Regions from separate parts of the Homo sapiens genome. Here all the other regions are linked to region 3. Evidence: promoter capture Hi-C in 16 types of primary human blood cells and fetal thymus (Javierre and others, 2016). All regions are on one chromosome and are shown on one strand. Each heading gives the region's core, a stretch centred on a gene start or on the middle of the fragment in contact. The rest is flanking DNA. Distances are from core to core; before and after follow the strand shown.

Region 1 (5,299 bases), core at 2,357-4,856, 280 kb before region 3:
ACAGTAGCTCACACCTGTAATATCAGCACTTTGGGAGGCCGAGGCAGGCAGATCACGAGGTCAGGACTTCGAGACCAGCCTGGCCAATGTGGTGAAACCCCATCTCTACTAAAAATACGAAAATTAGCCGGGCATGGTGGCAAGCGCCCGTAATCCCAGCTACCCTGGAGGCTGAGGCAGGAGAATCACTTGAACCGGGAGGCGGAGGTTGCAGTGAGCCGAGACTGTGCCACTGTACTTCAAAGCCCAGGTGACAGAGAGAGACTCCATCTCAAACAACAACAACAACAATAATAAAAATAATAACAATAATACAAAAATTAGCTGGGCGTGGTGGCACACACCTGTAATCCCAGCTATTTGGGAGACTAAAACATGAGAATTGCTTGAACCCAGGAGGCAGAGGTTGCAGTGAGCCAAGACTCCACCACTGTACTCCAGCCTGGGTGACAGAGCAAGACTATGTCTTGAAAAAAACAAAAAAAAAAGTAAATTTTATGGTATGTAAATTTTTAAAAAATTCAACCACGATGCTGAAGGAACCTGAGGAATGCAGACTGTGACAAATCTATCTAACTGCATTACAAATATATGATATAACCACACTCAAGGGGGAGGGAAGAAAGGAGCTGATCTAGGCAGTTTTGGAAAACAGTGTGATTAGATTCTAAAGACAAAAAGAATTACACACAAACACTGTACTTTTGTCAGTAAAATTGTTTCTCCCAGGGGTATAGGTTGGCAATTCTGAAACTACTAGTAGTCTAGGATGGAACAAATAAAGAAATATACTATAGGTAATGAGAGCCAAGTTTCTCACTGTTGTAGTAAGAAGTCACAAATAAGCCAAGGGAAAATGCTAGAATGAGACCCATGGTGCTAAAATGGAGCCAGGGGTATCAATATGAACTTACTTGTTTTTTAATAAACATTCAAATACATAAAGAAATAAAAACAGATGTGTATGCATGGCTTAGCAGACATAAATATATTTCCTTGCTCTGTCCACTGAGAGTGCCTAGAAGCAGTGATACCCCCAGGCAATGAGCACACCCAGCATTCAGGCCATAGTTTCTGAACACCATTCTTCAATAAAAGAAACCTTGGAGAAGTGGTTGATTCCTTGGTTGAATCACGGAAAATACAAGCCTGGAACAGCTTGTGACACCATAAAGAAAGCAATTGCTTTGAACAAAGGAAGATGAGGGAATGTCTAATGGACACAGGAGCCAAGCTAAAAAAACTCCCAATGGCCACAGCTAGAACAATTTATTTATTCTAGCTTTATTCTAATAAAAAAGAACAATTTGACAACAAATTACGGTGTTGTTAACAACCACACACACACACTCAAAAACAACCCAATAGCCAGGCACAGAGGTATAAGCCTATAGTTCCAGCTACTCAGGAGACTGAGGTGAGAAGACAGCTTGAGCCCCAGAGCTGAAGACCAGCAACATAGTGAGACTCCATCTCTTAAAAAACAAAAAGCTCAATGGTATTGGCTTATAACCTGAAGAATAAAGTGAATATCCATGAATCCATATGACATAGAAAGGACAGATTAAGTAAGTGGGGGAGAAAGGACAGCTCTTCTTTTCAGAGGAATTATAGATAATAAATGTAAAAAGAAAGAGGAAAATGGAAAATCATGATTAGAAGACTAGAGTAATAATTGTTGTAGGCAAGATCCACTGATGAATGCTAAAATTAATGAGCAAATATTTAAAAAGAAACACAGTATTATTTCCATGGCCTCAAAAGATCTCTCCCAAAATATATATTAATTATTTAAAAAAAAATGAAATCTTTACAGGAGAAAAACCTGGCAGACGCCATCTTAACCAAATGATCAATGTTAACATCACCAATAATAAGACATATCAGTATCATATACTCCCTAACGCTTGAGAACGACAAATTACCTAATAGTCTTCCTCCAAATCAATAACCTCAATCTAACGATGAGAAAGCATCAAACAAACTCAAACTGAGGCATTATCTATAATTATCTGACCCGTATTCGTTAAAAGTATAAAGGTCATAGAAGAAAACGAAAGACAGAAAAGATTAAGGAAACATAGTAAGGACACATGACAACTAACTGCAATGTGGGATCCTGGATTGGACATTGGAAGAGAAAAGGACATTAGTGAAAAAACTGGTAAAATCCAAAAAGTCTGTAGTTTAGTAAACACTACTGTACTAATGTTAATTCCTTAATTTGAAAAATAGTATCATAGTTATATAAGATTTAACATCTATATACTATCTTGCAGTTCTTCTGTAAATCTAAAATTACTTCAAAAAAGAGGAAAAAGGAAATAGGAAAGTCAGAAAGATAATTTTTTTTTTTTTTTGAGACAGAGTCTCGCTCTGTTGCCCAGGCTGGAGTGCAGTGGCGTGATCTGGGCTCACTGCAAGCTCCACCTCCAGGGTTCACGCCATTCTGATGCCTCAGCCTCCCGAGTAGCTGGGAATACAGGCGCCCACCACCACGCCCGGCTAATTTTTTGTAGAGATGGGGTTTCACCATGTTTGCCAGGATGGTCTCGATCTCCTGACCTCGTGATCCGCCCGCCTTGGCCTCCCCAAGTGCTGGGATTACAGGCGTGAGCCACCACGCCCGGCTAATTTTTTTGTATTTTTAGTAGAGACGGGGTTTCACCATGTTAGCCAGGATGGTCTCGATCTCCTGACCTCATGATCCGCCCGCCTCGGCCTCCCCAAGTGCTGGGATTACAGGCGTGAGCCACCGCGCCCGGCCTACGACCGGCTTACGCCCGGCTAATTTTTGTATTTTTAGTAGAGACGGGGTTTCACCATGTTAGCCAGGATGGTCTCGATCTCCTGACCTCATGATCTGCCTGCCTCGGCCTCCCAAAGTGCTGGGATTACAGGCTTGAGCCACCGCGCCTGGCCAGAAAGATAATTTTTTGCTTTGATACTTTAAAAAAATGATCTAGTACATTTTATGTGTTGGGCACTGTGCTAGTACTGGGAATGCACATATAAATCAGAAAAATATAAAACTTCAACCAACATAAATATCAACCACTATCAAACCTTTTTTCCTTTAGCTTTATCCTTAATTATTATATCTTCTGTTTTAACACTGGTTTCTTCCTCTTCCTCTTCTTCATCTGGAAAATCAGGGGGGCAACCATACAGCTCTATTTCTCTTTTCAACTTATCAGCACATGCCTACAACGAATATTAGAGATAATGAAGTTCAAAATCAAGGTAGACACAATTTCAGTTTTTTACTGTTTTTATTGCCAACTAAAATTGACTCTGAAATTTTTTGCAATATATTGATACCTATGTGGCTCCACTACAGAAAACTGAAACGGAGGCTGGGAGCAGTGGCTCACGCCTATAATCCCAGCACCTTGGGAGGCTGAGGCAGGCAGATCACTTGTCAGGAGTTCGAGACCAGCCTGGCCAACATGATGTCTCTACTAAATATAAAAATTAGCTGGGTGTGGTAGCACACGCCTGTAATCCCAGCTACTTGGGAGGTTGAGGTGACAGGATCACTTAAAACCAAGAGGCAGAGGGTGCAGTGAGCCGAGATCACATCACTGCACTCTAGCCTGGGCAACAAAGCAAGAATGAGTCCCATGTCTCAAAAAAATAAAATTAAATTAAAAAAAGGTATAAATCATGTACCTCAAAATTCACTAATTTATAAAGTAGTATTTTACCTAATTTACTCAAAAACATTTATTCAACACCCAGAATATTCAATATAGTATACTATATACCATATATATTAGATATATAAAGATGTAGGAAACATAATGTGTTATCATTTTGGATAACATTAATAACATTGTTTCTCAATTTAAAGATTACTGTCAGGAGGGGGGAGGGATAGCATTAGGAGATATACCTAATGTAAATGACGAGTTAATGGGTGCAGCACACCAATATGGCACATGTATACACATGTAACAAAGCTGCACATTGTGCACATGTACCCCAGAACTTAAAGTATAATAATAAAAAATAAATAAAAACAAAAATAAAATCCCACCAGCAAGAAAGAAAGAAAGAAAGAAAGATAGATTACTGTCACATATACTCTATTAGTTATCATCACAAGCCTACCAAGTAGATAGGATAGGCTTTAAGTCAGAAAACAAACAGAGATGAAGTGATTTACCCAAGGTCATACAGCTAGCAAAGTTACAGACTTAACCTTGGACTTTCCACTCTAGCTCTTATCAATTATACCACAATGAGTCCACTGTCAAAAACAAAGATGACACCAAGTAAACACTGTTAAAGTTATGAGAAAAATAAGAAATACAGAAGTAAAAATTTTTTAAATGGAAAAGGCTCTTCTATTCAGAAGAATTTCAACCACTAATAGAATAATAAAAACAGGCAAGGATGATTAAAGGATGATAAAACCAGGGTTATTGAGTAACAGGACATTCAGAGGCTCTCAAAGTGTTATCCTATAGATTACTTTTTAATTTCTTTCTTTTTTTTTTTTGAGATGGAATTTTACTCTTGTTGCCCAGGCTGGAGTGCAATGGCGCAGTTTCGGCTCACTGCAACCTCTACTTCCCGGGTTCAAGCGATTCTCCTGACATAGCCTCCGAAGTAGCTGGAATTACAGGCACCTGCCACCACGCCCGGCTAATTTTTGTATTTTTAGTAGAGATGGGGTTTCACCACGTTGGCCAGGCTGGTTTTGAACTCCTGACCTCATGTGATCCTCCTGCCTCGGCCTCCCAAAGTGCTGGGATTACAGGCGTGAGCCACCGTGTCTGGCCTTACTTTTTAATTTTATAGGAGGAAAAGTCACCTTTAGAATGAGGAAACCTGGCAGGATTAACTTAATTTCACTAAATGGGACAAATTACCATTTTATATGCTTTTGAGGTGATACAATGGTAAGTTAATACCTCAACAATGAAGTATTCTTGTCAAAATATTTAGCCCAACCCTAATCATGAAAAAACAATCAGAAAACTCATATCATAGGACATTCTACAAAATAACTAGCTTAGACTTCAAAAACATCAATATCACGACAAACAACTAAAAGACAGTGAAAAGAATGGATAATTACATGCAATGTGTGCTCCACAAAATAAAAAGTGAAAAACAGCAGGGCATAGTGGGTCAAGCCTGTAATCTCAGCACTGTGGGAAGCCAAGGCAGGCGGATCACCTAAGGTCAGGAGTTCGAGACCAGCCTGCCCAACATGGTGAAACCCTGTTTACACTAAAAATACAAAAAACATTAGCCAGGCATGGTAGCAGGCACCTGTAATCCCAGATAT
Region 2 (5,306 bases), core at 1,510-4,009, 310 kb before region 3:
ATCATCTTTTCATAGTTTTGATCTGTTTTTATAATTCCTGCATTCAATTCACTATTGAATACGGGGAAAAAAAGGTTATTGAGTTTAAAGGCACTTATACATAGCTATAAAAAACTGCTGCATACACAAATTTAAAATACTGCTTTTTAATATACAAATTTGAAATACTGCTCATTTAAGCAGTAAAATGAGAACAATGCCCAGAACATTTAAAACTGCTCAACACAACACCATCTTTGCGTTCCTTAAAACAAATTACTGCAATCTCTCTATTGTCTATCCATCCTTAAGTACTGTCATCTGACACTGCTTAGGGCTCCTGTTTATGACAATAAATGATGCTTCTTCAGAAATTTCCTGATGGACACTTTATTCTTATAAAGCCCAAAATGCAACATGAAAATAGCCTAACTAAGGTTGTAGCCAAGTTTTTTTTTTTTTTTTTTTTTTTTTTTGAGACAGGGTCTCTGTCACCTAGGCTAGAATGCAGTGGTATGATCACAACTCACTGCAGCCTCAAACTCCTAGGCTCAAAGAATCTTCTCACCTCAGCCTCCCAAGTACTAGGACTACAGGCGCAAGCCACCACACCCAGCTAATTTTTTTTTTTTTTGTAGAGACAGGATCTCACTTTGTTGCCCTGGCTGGTCTCAAACTCCTGGGCTCAAGCAATCCTCCCACCTCAGCCTTTCAAAGTGCCTGGTTTACAGGCGTGAGCCACAGTGCCTGGCCATAGCCAGGTTTTAATTATTGCATTTACAATAACTAATACTGGATATCAGAAAAAAATTTTCTCATACCAATCCAGGTTCTTCTTAATTTGGCCTAATCTGGCCCCAACCTGTTTCATTTCCTACCTCTGCCCACAAGATAATGTACTTCAAATAAATATCAGACCCTTTCCATGGCTTATCCACACTTTCTCCTCTCCCTGAAAACATTGTTTATTTTTCAAGAAACCCAGAATTTGGCCGGGCGTGGTGGCTCACGCCTGTAATCCCAGCACTTTGGGAGACTGAGGCAGGTGGATCACAAGGTCATGAGTTCGAGACCAGCCTGGCCAACACAGTGAAACCCCATCTCTACTAAAAATACAAAAAATTGGCCAGACGTGGTGGCAGGCACCTGTAATCCCAGCTAGTAGGGAGGCTGGGGCAGAAGAATAGCTTGAACCTGGCAGAGGCTGCAGTGAGCTGAGATTGTGCCATTGCACTCCAGCCTGAGTGACAGTGCGAGACTCTGTCTCAGGAAAAAAAAAAAAGAAACCCAGAAGTCACATGACATCTCTGAATTCTCCTTGTCTCTATTATTGTGCTTAGAAACTGGGTGTTTGTCTCTCTTGCTAGACAATAAGGATCAGGTCTCATTCATCTTTATAATACCAGTGCGTAGGATGACTCCAAAGATATTTATCCTTTTCTTTTAATCTACTTTTCCTTTAACCATTTTGCCCTACTCGAAAACAAGACAACATGGTAAAATGGTTATGAGAACAGACTTTCAAGACAGACAGAAGCAAGTTCATATCCCAAGTTTGCAACTACTAGCTTTAAGGCATTTAAGGAAATACTTAATTGTTCTAAGCTTCAGTTTCTTTATTTATAAAATAGAGCTAATAATATCTGTATTAAATAAGGTTGCTTTGAGGTTAAAGTCAGATAATGGACACAAAATACTTAGCATAGTACCCGGCACAAGTAAGCCTTCAATGAACACTAGCTATTATTATCATTAGTTTATTTTATTAAAAAAAAAAAAGAAAAGAAAAGAAAAAGAAAACAAAAATGCACCAGGACTAAGTAACTCTAAAACACAAAATGATTGGGATCTACAGATTACCTGGCAAAAACTCTATCATTGAAAGTGCTGGCAGGACCACTTCTTAGGCTGTCCCAGTTGGCAACCATTTCTTTCACCCACTCTACCCAGGTGTACAGACGGAGAATACCTGCATCTGCCATGGCTTCCACAAAGTTGGCATCTTCTACAGTGTCACCAGCATCAGCCAGAGCCAAACGCATTCCTGGAAGAAGAAAAAAAAATTCAATGCATTAAAAATATGGTTACTGAGTATCAACTGTGTCCTATGTGTCCAGTTGGATACCTTGCAAAGCCCATATATAAATTAACAAATGCTTTAAAGGACTGTCCTGGATCAACAACAAAAATTAAAATCACCAAAAAGTAGCATCCCTAACCGTGATGTTAAAATATTCGAACCATCCATATTGATTTGCATCCACTAAGCACCAATATGTGTTTCTTCTCAGGCATGTTGAGTTAATGAGATAAAGTGATCTTTAATGAGGCAGAGATAGAAAATGATAAAGTGGGGATAAAGACACACCTTTCATTGTGGTTTTCTTATCAACATTTCAGCCTCATTTAGAGGTAGCAAAATACATTTTAATACATGAGAATACACACTGGTGCCTTATGTGTACAAATGCATATGAATTTTTCTCAGTTTTGAAACTAGGTTCTTACAAGTTTATCACTAATAAAACTTTACTTTTTCAATTCTCATCTCTCAGTACTACCAAAATCTTCCATTCTAAAATATTGAAAAAAAGAACCTAAATGTCCATCAATTAAACTGTAGGATATCCCTACAATGGAACACTATAGGGTTGCAAAAAAAAAAAAAAAAAAAAGAGGGAACTCATTATGTAGTTATTTCCGTCTTTAGCTTTGGTGTCCAATCAAAGCATTCAGGTTCTGCACTTTGCCTTTTCCACTTAACAGTTCATATTTGTATACTAACCCATACATACACATATCTATGTTTTTTGTTTGTTTGTTTGAGATGGAGTTTCGCTCTTGTTGCCCAAGATAGAATGCAATGGCGCGATCTCGGCTCAGTGCAACCTCCGCCTCTTGGATTCAAGCAATTCTACTGCCTCAGCCTCCTGAGTAGCTGGGATTACAGGCATGCGCCACCACGCCCGGCTAATTTTGTACTTTTAATAGAGACAGGGTTTCTCCATGTTGGTCAGGCTGGTCTGAAACTCCCGATCTCAGGTAAACTGCCCACCTCAGCCTCCCAAAGTGCTGGGATTACAAGTGTGAGCCACCACACCCAGCTGTTTAGTTTTATATCTACATATCTATACACAAAATAAAAATCATGAGCTCATACTTTTATCACCAAATCCAATCTGACCCCATAGGGCTCATTCTAGCATTTTCTCTTTACTTATTTATAGCTTCTTTTTCTGATAGTGAGCTCTGTGAGGCAGAGGTTCTCATTATCTACCTGTTTACTTATTTATTCAATCCTAATATATACATAAAGTGGTTTCATAATTGCTTATATATCTTGTAAGAAACAGACTAACTATATTATTTGGATACAGTTCCGTCTTTGGCTTTGGTGTCCAGTCAAAATACTGAGAACACAAACTGAGTTAGCCATGACCAATAAAAAGAAGTACCATGATGACCAATGACTAATTATATAAGAAATGAATGGTTCTTTCAGGATAGTGCATTTCTTCTCTTGACACGATAATAATAAAATGTAATAGGACTGAGGCCAGACAAAAAAACAATTTTCTGAAAAAATCAATGTTCCCAGGTTCAAGACACATTTAGGAATACCAAATACAGGCCAGGCATGGTGGCTCATGCCTATAATCCCAGCACTTTGGAAGGCCAAGGAGGGTGGATCACTTGAGGCCAAGAGTTCAAGACCAGCCTGGCCAACAAGGCAAAACCCCGTCTCTACTAGAAATACAAAAATTAGCCAAGCGTGCAGGCACATGCCTGTAATCCCAGCTATTTGAGAGGCTGAGGCACAAGAATCGCTTGAACCCTGGAGATGGAGGTTGCAGTGAGCCAAGATCATGCCACTGTACTCCAGCCTGGGTGACAGAGCAAGACTCTGTCTCAGTTAATAAGAATGGAATACCAAATACAGAGGAAATATCTTGGAAAAGCTTCCTACATACTCAACATTTTTTTTTGAGACAGAGTTTCACTCTTGTTGCCTAAGCTGGAGTGCAATGCAATCTCAGCCCACTGCAACCTCCGCCTCCCGGGTTCAAGCGATTCTCCTGCCTCAGCCTCCCAAAGTAGCCTGGATTACAGGCACCTGCCACCACACCCAGCTAATTTTTTTTTTTTTTTTTGTATTTTTAGTTGAGACAGGATTTCACCATGTTGGCCAGGCTGGTCTTGAACTCCTGACCTCAGGTGATACACCCACCTCGGCCTCCCAAAGTGCTGGGATTACAGGCGTGAGCCACCGCGCTTGGCCCATACTCAACATCTCTACAAAACAAGTCTTGAATCTTAGCAATGATATTGAGTTCATTAAAGGAAGACTCAAACTAACTTCAGCTTGATTTGTTCCTGAACACATCATGTCAGCAATTCTTATATATTAAATATTATGTTGCTCATCCACAAAGGAAACATTAAGATTTTAAAATTTTGTTAAAAGCAAAACAGAAAGTAAAATTAAAACACCAATTTTAACGTGTCTTCTATAATCTGAGAACTGGACCCTACAGAACAGCAATAAGAAAAATGTTTACTCACCATCTGCTGAAAATTTGTCAATAGCTTGGGTCAAAGTGAGGAAGTTGCCTGTGGATTTTGACATCTGAAATAGAGAGTCAGTGATCAATCATTAATAACAGTAATATAAATAAACCAAATGAGCCAAATAAAATTAACTAGGTTGGCCATGACCAGATAAAAACAAAAAAGAATTCAAAATACGGAAAGGAAAAGATATTACACTAATTTTAGAGCGGTGAAAACTGAATTTCATCCGATAAAGTGCCTTGTTTGGGTTACTCAGCTATCAGTGACACAGCTAGGAGAGGACCTCCAGACTCACACTCAGTCCACTGTGATTTAGCCTATACTGTCTGGGTTAGACATGTGTAATGATTCCACTATAACTCTAGAACACCACCTGGTTACCTAAGAAAGAGCTTTACGGCAATTAGAATCATTCAGAAATGGAATGGACCAGCTCATGAGGTTGGAGTTATGATTTTAGGAACCCTCCTATCATTAGGGTCACAAAAATCGGTTGTTCAAGTTGTGCTCTGCCTTAGGGCAATGCATCGGAAGAGGCACCACTCACAGCCTAGCAATCTTTATCGCTTTAAAATTGTATGTCATTAGTTTAACTATGCTGATATCAGAAGGAAATGATGATTATATCAGTTTTCTATTATACTACATGGCAATACATATCTTGTTCTAATAAAATCAGGATAGTACAACAACTTTCAGACAGCCAAAGAAAATGTCATGTTCTAACAAGAATAATAAATGTATTGTTCTTCTTT
Region 3 (4,981 bases), core at 862-3,361:
TCACCTTTTAAAGTATACGAGTTGGCTGTATGCAGTGGCTCACACCTGTAATCCCAGCACTTTGGGAGGCCAAGGTGGGCAGATCACTTCAGCTCAGGAGTTCAAGACCAGCCTGGCCAACATGGCAAAACCCCGTCTTTACCAAAAATATAAAAAATTAGCTGGATGTGGTGGCGGAGGCCTGTGGGAGCTACTTGGGAGGCTGAAGTGTGAGGATCGCTTGAGCCTGGGAGGCGGAGGTTGCAGTGAGCTGATATCATGCCACTGCACTCCAGCCTGGGTGACAGAGTGACACTCCCTCTCAAAATAAGTAAATAAATAAATAAATAGTATAGAATTCAATGGGTTTTAGTATATTCACAAAGTTGTGCAACCATCAGCGCCAATTCCAGAACATTTTTATCATCCAAAAAGACATTCCATATCCATCAGCAGTCACTTCCAATTCCTCATTCCCCTCTACCTCCTGGAAACCACTGTTCTACTTTCTGTCTGTATGTATTTGCCTGAAATGCAATGCAATTTCATCATATTTCATGTAAATGGAATCATACAACAGGCGGCCTTTTTGTATGTGGCTTTTTATGTCTGAACAATATTTCATTGTACAGTTATACCATGTTTCTTTTTTTTTTGAGACGGAGTCTCGCTCTGTTGCCCAGGCTGGAGTGCAGTGGCGCGATCTCTGCTCACTGCAAGCTCTGCCTCCGGGGTTCACGCCATTCTCCTGCCACAGCCTCCCGAGTAGCTGGGACTACAGGCGCCCGCCACCACGCCGGGCTATTTGTTTTTAGTAGAGACAGGGTTTCACCGTGTGAGCCAGGATGGTCTTGATCTCCTGACCTCGTGATCCGCCCGTCTAGGCCTCCCAAAGTGCTGGGATTACAGGTTTGGGCCACCGCGCCCGGCCTATACCATGCTTCTTAACCATGCATCAGCTGATGGTCATTGGGTTGTTACAATACTTTTTGGCTATTATGAATATTGCTGCTGTGAACATTTGTGCACATGTTTTTATGTGGATCCAATTATTTAGGCTTACAGTATTTAAGAGTGCTGCTTTGCTACTACGCTGACTGGGGTTAAGACCAGGCTCTGCTATTTAGTAGATGTGTGACCTTGGGCAAGTTACTTAACTTCTCTGTGCCTCAAGCTCATCTACAAACAGTGACTATGTTACCCACCTCCTAGCAATTTTTGAATCTTAAAAGAGTTAACGTACCTGACATACTTAGATCCGGGTTTGCTACATGGTTAGGTCCAAGTAAAATTTATCTATTAGTATTATTTTAATATTTTTACGACTTTAATAAAAGGGCTCATCTTCATTGTGCCTTTGAAACCCCAAATCCAAAACTTTTTTTTTTGTTAATTAGAAAAACTAAATAAATATTCAGAATTGTCTGGTATTCTGGGTGTGCTAATTTCAGACAAGCACATTTTGAGATCGAGGGAGACGTGGTTAAGCTGTAAATTGCAAAGAGGCTTGCCTTCGCCAATTTACCTTTCTTAATGCAGCAACTTATAACACCTATTGGCTTGCAACGGTTTAGTATAATTTGGGAGGTATTCTTGTAATTAATAATATATTATTTAATAACATGGATATAGAGCTGAGTGGTGACTTAAGACTCCTGCTACTGTAAAGCTAGGAAATAGCGGCTTTCCACAGCAACTGTGCAATCGGTTTAGGCGCGGCCCAGGTCGATTTTGATTGGCTTGCCCAGTGGAAATGCTCTCCGCCTGAGCTACTACTGGCCAATATGGCTCCACAATTGGCTCTCCTGGAAGCCGACAGACACGTGGCTACCGCAGGCTGAGCCGAACTTGGGAGGACTTAGTTCTGCTTACCGCGAGAGGGCGCCGGCGGTTCCTCACTGCTAAAATCTCATTTCCCATAAAGCCCCCGAGTCACCAATCAACTGGCTGTCTTCATACCGCTTTCAAAGTCGGCGGGCGCCTTGCCCAATAGCAAAGAACATATCGCCCCCATTTCGAAGATTGATGGAAAGTTTGACCAACCGCATCTCAGACTTCTGCTGTCTCCGCCTCTCTCGTTGGGGATTGACGATTTTTCTAGCCAATAGGAGACGTCGGGTCGGCGGGTGGATGAACGCGGCCCTCTGTAATGGCGGAGCGTGGCGGGGACGGGGGCGAGAGTGAACGATTCAACCCGGGGGAGCTCAGGTAAGGAACGCTGCCCTCCTTCACATCTCTGCTCACGAGAGCCCCAGAGGCTAGACGCTAGACCTGCCATGTGGAGATCCGGGGCGGACGGTGGGTAGCGGAGCCGGGCGGCCCGGGCCGGGACCGCATGGGGTTTAAGAAGGGGGAAGGGGAAGGTGGCTTGAATGAGAGCCGGGCCCGGGCTGGGCCAGGGCCTCCTGCGCGTTCCCTGGCTGCTTCCTAGTGCTTTCTTGGGGCCTCGCCGCCTCTCGCGGCCTGCAGCCCTCTGGCCGGGCGCGGTGCTCCCGCCTTTGGGCCCCGCCTCAGCCGCGTGTCGCCTCCGTCTCGGCCGACCTGAGTCTGTCCCCAGGCCGCGCTCCGCTGCGGGCCTGATTTTCCTCATCGACGTCTCTGCACTCCGCAGTTACTTTCCCTGTACCCCTCGCCACTTCTGGCTAAGCCTTCTCCACGCCCTCCGCGGCTCTTTGGGCTCCCCACGTTTGCCCTTTCATTTCATCCCCCTCATTGCTTGCCTTTCTTAACTTCTGTGGCTTTTCTTCCTTTTTTCATCCCTTTATTCCTTATTATCCTGTAGTTGTGAGTAACAACAACAGTAGCAACCCCTTATTAGGCACTTACCGTGTGCCAGTAAACCCTTTACTTAGGTTTGTCTCATTTAATCCTCACAACCACCCTTTGGAGTAGTTGCTATTAACATTTTGCAGGCCACAGACCAGAGGGGTCTTCAGTTGTTACTCGCCCATCTTACAGGTGAGATAACAGCCTCGTGGAGGTTGAGTCAGTAGAATAAGATTGCATAGGCGGATTTGTGGCTCCAGGAAGTGGCTTGAACTCAGGCAGTCAGGTTTCAGAGCCTGCAATCCCAATTGGCGTTCTATTCGTCTACTACTCATGCCATTTCCTTGAACAGTGCAGTGACCTTTTTTTCCCCTGGAACCTCAGTGTCTATGAGTTTGTAATTAAAATTTGGTAAAATGAGAGTGACCTGGAGAAATCTTTTGGTCAGTGGTTTTTGAGGAAAAGAGGTATTATGCTTTATGTGTATTTGGTACTTTGGTTTTTTTCTGTATGGGAGAAATGGCATTTCAGATGTTCAGCTCCCATTCTGAATTGTGCTGTTGTCAACGTTTGAAAATGAAAAAGAGCAGGGTAGATTATGAAGACTCTGTTGATACTGTCTTGAACTTAAGATGAAATTGTGTAAGGAAATGGGTATTGTTATTCAAGGTTTTAGAAGAGGAAAATGCCTTTCAGATTCTGTATGGTCGCACACACAAATCTCCACTTTGGCAGAAATGAAATTTTGTTTTATTTCAGAGATGAATCTGAAATCCTTTAAACTCCATATGTATACAGTATTAATGAGTGATCAAGGTGAATTGTCAGCATCTTTAAATATTAGCGATGCCAAGTTTATTCCTGATTTCGATCTTAAAGGGAGGTTACTTAGCTAGTTTCAGATGGATTTATTAGGGAACATTCTTTTGCATTTTAGAAAGTATCTTTCTAAAGCTTTAAAAAAATCCAAATGGCTTTATTAATAGTCTAGACACTGTTGCACAACTGATTTGAATAGAGCTTTAATTTGCAAATGAATTTGCCCTGTTGCAAATATTTTATACCGTAGCCTCTTGGATTGGAAGTTGCTTGCAGAGCATACTGTACAGATCTTTATTTTAGCATTTCTCATGAAATTAGGTGTGTATGTGGCCTCTTTGATGGCAGAAGTTGGGGCTTAATTTTTGCATTATATTTGTAACCTGAATGTACTTCATGGTGTGTCTGTCATAACCGCCTGGCAAATGAGATGTTCTGTAGTTATGTTGTAAATAAATGAAGATAGGAGATTTAAAGATACTTCACTTATTGGGCCGACATTTATTGTGTGCTACATGACAGTTGCTGACCTAGGTGCTGGTAATAGTGCCCTGAACCAGACCGAAAAAAGAGGTTTGTCCTGCAGGAGCTTCCAGCTTAAGTAAGAGCCATCTAAATTGTAAATGAAATCAACCACATCAAATGATTAAATCTGCCTGTAAGTGTGAAGTGACTTACACAAGGTCACTGGGTAGTTGGCAGGGTCTGGACTAAACCTCAGGTCTCCTCAATCATAGTTTATACAATTTGCCCCCATATATCGGTAGCATCTTTTTATTTCTTGCCCCTCCAGTTAAAGTATTGTCTTTAGCATTGGGGAGATTGCATATCTGGATAGAGAACTTCTATTGTAGAAAAATACCTTATGTTTGTATTTCCATGATGTTCTTGTGAAATATTTTTGTTCCTTCTATTCATGCAAGTAGGCTTTTGTTTTTCAGAAAGGTTGTAAGTGGTAGGAATGCAAATCACAATAGATGGAAAATTTATAGACGTTCCAAATACCATTAAAGTAACTTCCAGAGTCATTTGTATAGATCCTTTCCCTAGAGCCTTTGTTTACCTATCAATACTTAAGATACTTGCAATCTAAATTTCCTTATCTATAAAATGAGAATAAGAATATTCTGGTGTTATCACTGACTAGCTGCCTTAAGAAAATATTTTTCTGTGCTATCATTTCCTCTGTAAAAATGGTGTCAAACTTACCTTATTGGGCTGTAGTGAGGATTAAGAGTTAATACGGATAATGTCTGTATAACCATGCTGGTATATAGGAACTTTACTATCATTATTAAAACAATAATGTGTTTTAATGTGTTGCAACAGTATACTAAAGGGAACTATATACTAGTGGCTAAAGATAATACAGAAGTAAATGGGAGATTTCTTCATAGCATTTATCATAATCGAAAAC
Region 4 (4,739 bases), core at 589-3,088, 300 kb before region 3:
ACTTCAATTACACTCACTCACCTCATTCCTGGTGGTTTCTGAAGGAACTAAGTACATTCGGCTTCATCTAATTAGGCTCCTCTTTCTAACCCCACCTGCTGCAGGTGAGTATTCTTTGCCTGACCATGTGATAAAGCTTGCTCTTAGAAGGAGGCCTACTCTTTCACCTCTATCTTTTTCAGTAGGCCAATAACATTCTAGGGCAAAGTATTAGCTTATCCATTGTTGCCATCAATTAAGCCTCAATCACCTTCCAGCTTTCTCTGGTAATAAAGCAGATATTTTCACCTACATGACTCTTATTTTCATCTACATGACTCTTATATTTCTCTCAAATTGTTTCTATCTTAGGTAGAAAAGACATGCATTCTCTTTTGACATTCTAAACCTCTAACATACCAAAATACTTCAATATCTATTTAATCCAGCATTATAAAGTTATATTTAATGAATGCAGTGATTAAGAACACAAATCTGAATTAGCTGGGTGTGATGGCAGGGGCCTGTAATCCCAGCTACTCAGGAGGCTGAGGCAGGAGAACTGCTTGAGCCCAGGAAGCAGAGGTCGCAGTGAGCCAAGATTGAGCCACTCCACTCCAGCCTGGGCGACACAGCAAGACTCCGTCTCAAAAAAAAAAAAAAAAAGAACACAAATCTGGCCAGGTGCAGTGGTTCAAGCCTATACTCCCAGCACTTTGGGAGGCCAAGGTGGGCAGATCACTTGGGGTCAGGAGTTCGAGACCAGTCTGACCAATATGGTGAAATCCTCGTGTCTACTAAAAATACAAAAATTAGCTGGTCATGGTGGCACGTGCCTGTAGTCCCAGCTACTCAGGAGTCTGAGGCAGGAGAATCGCTTGAACCCGGAAGTTGGAGGCTGCAGTGAGCTGAGATTGAGCCACCGCACTCCAGCCTGTGAGACAGAGCAAGACTCCGTCAGATAGACACACACACACACACACACACACACACACACACACACACAAATGTAAATCCCAGAGCCAGGCTACCTAGTTTGAATTCCAGTTCCCACTGGCTAACTATCTGGCTAATCTCAAGTAAATCAGTTAATAATCTCTTTGTGCCTCCATTTCCTCATCCGTAAATTGGAGATAAGAGTGCCTACTTCAGAATGGGGTTATTTTCAGAATTAAGTAAATTAATATATAAGTGCTACATAAGTGTTGCTTTTATCATCATTCAAAATATGTGTCACTTCAAAAAAAAGAAATGTAACCAATTCTTGGTTATCCAGAAAAATGTAGGAAAGCTAAACTAAAAAACATTCTTGTTGATGTCCTTAAAAATCTTCATTTGACTCTGAAGCACCTAATAACTTGTTTGGATTTTTATGTTCTCTAGCCTAGCCTTCTTTCCATGGAAATATAAACCACATTAACATATGCACAATTAGGAGAAAAGAATGGTTCAGAACATGTTTGTTGAACTCACCTGGCATTTAGTAGACATTAATAAATAAATTAATGGACTGAATAAAACTGCTTATCTAAAATATGAACTCCTTAACTAAAAGAGCAAAAGAAGGGACCAGGTATTCTCCATTCAATAAATCTTTGAAGTTTACTGCATAATAATATGAACTAATTTGAAATATCTTGTCAAGAAATTCACTCCATAGAGATTCCTAGAGGGCACGAAAAAGACAATTTCTGAAAATGCTTTTAGGCAAAGGACATGATAAAAACAAAAATTAGAAATTTGGAAATAGAATACATTCTCATATTAAGCTCTCAAATCAATGTATAGCTGAAACTATGTTAAATTTTTCTACATTTTTTCTAATTAAGAAAATCACAGAGCATGGAGTAAAGCAAATAAAAACTAAAAAAAATTATTACTTACACCCTCATAAAATCCTTTTAGATATATCTTCTCCTTTGCTTCTGCAAGTTTTTCCCGGTCATTCTGGCTCTGAATTTTCAACTCATCACAAATGGTTACAGCAGAAAGATTTCCAAAACCTGGGATTTCAATGACTGGCACCTGCAGCAAACAGCAATCAGGAACGTGTTCACACTGACTGGACACACAGCTCTGTAGGGCACAAGTCCTTTTGCCTCTAATGTCCAATTAAGTCATTTCAGATTGTATATGTCATTACGACACTGCCACACATTAAGTAATCACAGAGTGACTAACTTCCAGATGTAAATTTGTCCTTCTACTCTCCACAGGAACCACCCATACTCTGTGTACCAACACCCCCAATGCCCTTCCCCCACCACACACACCTTTCCCAACACTCTATCCTCCACTGGCATATAATTACCTAAGTAATTCATACTGAAACTAGCAAAATGATGTAAACCAGGGGTTCCCAACCCCAAGGATGTGGACCGGTACCAGTCCATGGCATTAGGAACCAGGCTGCACAGCAGGAGGTGAGGAACGGGCGAGCATCACCCCCTGAGCTTCACCTCCTGTCAGATCATGGGTGGCATTAGATTCTCATAGAAGCACGAACCCTATTGTGAACTGTGCATGGAGGGATCTAGGTTGCTTGCTCCTTATGAGAATCTAATGCCTGATGATCTAAGGTGGCACAGTTTCATGCCAAAACCATTCCCCTACCACACCCTGCTGGTCCATGGAAAAATTGTCTTCCACAAAACCAGTCCCTGGTGCCAAAAAGGTTGGGGCCTGCTGATGTAAACAACTAGATTCATGGATGGTTGTGCTTTTGGTTTATATTAATTCCTCTGGATCTTTCATGAAATGAAAATCATTTGCTAGTAATTTAAAAGTTTTTCTTCTATAGATACTAACATGAAAATACAAGAAACATAAAACAGAGTTGTACAGGACTTTGTTAAAGTTATTATGGTTACATATAAACATTCATGAAAAGGGCAAAATTTTATCTTTAGAAGCCAGGAAATTGATCACACTAGCAAAGCAAGCTACTATAAAATTGGTGATGCTAAAAAGCTATTTGTTCCAGAACTGCAGGTGCCAGGTGGTAAGAAAATGCTTGTTAGTTTTCCTTTTGCTCTTATCTACCATAGCAGGTATCAAATTAAAGTGAGTAAATCCTTAAGCAAACTCTCTTTTTCATACTCCACCAATTAATTTTGTTATAAGGAAAACATGTTAGCTCTTCTTTTTCTCTGATAAAGAGATGGATGTGAATATTCTGAATTATCTATGTACTCACCGGCTCAAATGGCAAGACCATGTCATCTCTAATTCCATATTTTGCTCGTAAGGCCTACAGAAAAATTTGCAAGTTAACACTAATGATCAACACTTTACTGGGAGAATCATTGAGAGAAGCAATCTCCAAAGTTTCTTAAAAGTTTCTTTAAAGTTTCTATTTGTTCTCCTCTCCATAGAGAGCAATTTTCTAACTTTGCCAAATATCTCAAAAGGGATCTGTAACCTTCAAAAATTTAATAGCTAAAGTTATAGTGAATAGCCTAAATGAAACCACACAACCAAAAGCAAAAATGTACATAGACATACACATATCACTTAAATTGAGGTTCATATGCCAGATTTCAATGAAAATGTGAATATCAGAAAGCTTTTTCAAAATTCTGTGAACATATTTAAAATTCAAACCACAGAAAATATATTAACATCAAGAAACAAGTTAGAGATAGCAGTTTAAAGATAAATGCATAGCTTTTTAGCCTAGTCCCACAGCGTAGTTCAGCAGCACCTAAGCAATGAGATGGTGAGGACGAAATACAAACATGAAACTCAGATACTTACTTGCTTTTTCTTCAAGTCTCTGAGGGCAGCAATATCATCAGGGGAGTCGGAAGGAACACTTGTAACCACACCAGTGCCTTAGAAAACAAAGTGTGGAATTAATAACTAGAACCAAAATGTGTTTATCAAAATATTTCTAGAAATAAATAAACTCTTTACCTTTATCCTCCTTAATAGTTAGCATTGGGAGAACATAGATCACCTTGTATGATGTTAAAGGTGCAGAAAGTGATGCACCAAGAATTTCCTGCATAAGAAAAAAATCAATATAAAAGGTGAAGTAATTCATTGTGACCATTAGAATTAAAACTATGTTAATATTTTAAGCCCTGAGAAGCTAGTAATCAAAAATATATGGAAATAAATTCAAGAGCTATATTGTACAATATGGTGACTATAGGAAATAACAATGTATTTTATACTTGAAAATTGCTGTGTAGATTTTTTTAAGAGACAGAGCCTTGCTATGTTGCCAAGGCTAGAGTGTAGAGGCTATTCACAGGTGCTATCATAGCATTCTACAGGCTCAAGCTCCTGGGCTCAGGCAAGCCTCCTGAGGTCCCAGCCTCCCAAGTAGCTGGCTCTACAGGTGCATACCACTGCACCTGATTTAAATTTTAACTCTTCTCACCACAGAAAATGGTAAGTACGTAAGGTATAAATTTGTTAATTACCTCAATTTAGCCATTTCACAATGTATATATATTTCAAAACATATTGCGTACCATAAATACAATTTCTGTCAATTAAAAAATGAATACAGGCTGAGCGCGGTGGCTAACGCCTGTAAACCCAGCACTTTGGGATGCTGAGGCAGGCAGATTGCCTGAGCTTAGGAGTTCGCGACCAGCCTGGGCAACATGGTGAAACCCCGTCTCTACTAAAATACAAAAAATTAGCCAGGCGTGGTGGCATGCGCCTGTAGTCCCAGCTATTTGGAAGGCTGAGGCGGGAGAATTGCTTGAACCCGAGAGGTGGAGGTTGTAGTGAGCCAAGATCGTGCC

What was found. The method cuts DNA at HindIII sites, captures the fragments that hold promoters and counts their contacts. A CHiCAGO score of 5 or more calls a contact.
Region 1: a contact is called between a fragment that was not itself captured here and the fragment with the promoter of TCERG1 in region 3, in 9 of 17 cell types (fetal thymus, naive B cells, activated CD4 T cells and 6 more). The highest score is 9.1, in fetal thymus.
Region 2: a contact is called between a fragment that was not itself captured here and the fragment with the promoter of TCERG1 in region 3, in 3 of 17 cell types (activated CD4 T cells, naive CD8 T cells and naive B cells). The highest score is 6.1, in activated CD4 T cells.
Region 4: a contact is called between a fragment that was not itself captured here and the fragment with the promoter of TCERG1 in region 3, in 8 of 17 cell types (activated CD4 T cells, monocytes, total B cells and 5 more). The highest score is 6.8, in activated CD4 T cells.

The regions. Positions count from the first base shown.
Region 1 is chr5:146,165,062-146,170,360 of GRCh38, forward strand. LARS1 (leucyl-tRNA synthetase 1) reads right to left here. Exons shown (of 32, transcript NM_020117.11): 5 at 3,067-3,204. Among named protein-coding and RNA genes, the nearest start is that of LARS1, 15 kb to the right of the region's middle. RefSeq lists an enhancer at 4,559-4,728. The HindIII fragment of the contact is 9,737 bases long and covers 1-5,299 here.
Region 2 is chr5:146,131,059-146,136,364 of GRCh38, forward strand. It overlaps LARS1 (leucyl-tRNA synthetase 1), which reads right to left. Exons shown (of 32, transcript NM_020117.11): 22 at 4,543-4,606; 23 at 1,840-2,023; 24 at 1-51. Among named protein-coding and RNA genes, the nearest start is that of PLAC8L1, 28 kb to the left of the region's middle. RefSeq lists an enhancer at 2,101-2,270. The HindIII fragment of the contact is 2,354 bases long and covers 1,583-3,936 here.
Region 3 is chr5:146,445,222-146,450,202 of GRCh38, forward strand. It overlaps TCERG1 (transcription elongation regulator 1), which reads left to right and starts at 2,112. Exons shown (of 23, transcript NM_001382548.1): 1 at 2,112-2,187. The coding sequence starts at 2,129. RefSeq lists an enhancer at 1,775-2,482 and a silencer at 2,401-2,480. The HindIII fragment of the contact is 4,342 bases long and covers 1-3,697 here.
Region 4 is chr5:146,149,999-146,154,737 of GRCh38, forward strand. It overlaps LARS1 (leucyl-tRNA synthetase 1), which reads right to left. Exons shown (of 32, transcript NM_020117.11): 11 at 3,895-3,982; 12 at 3,736-3,812; 13 at 3,176-3,229; 14 at 1,864-2,004. Among named protein-coding and RNA genes, the nearest start is that of LARS1, 30 kb to the right of the region's middle. RefSeq lists an enhancer at 1,467-1,636. The HindIII fragment of the contact is 3,408 bases long and covers 135-3,542 here.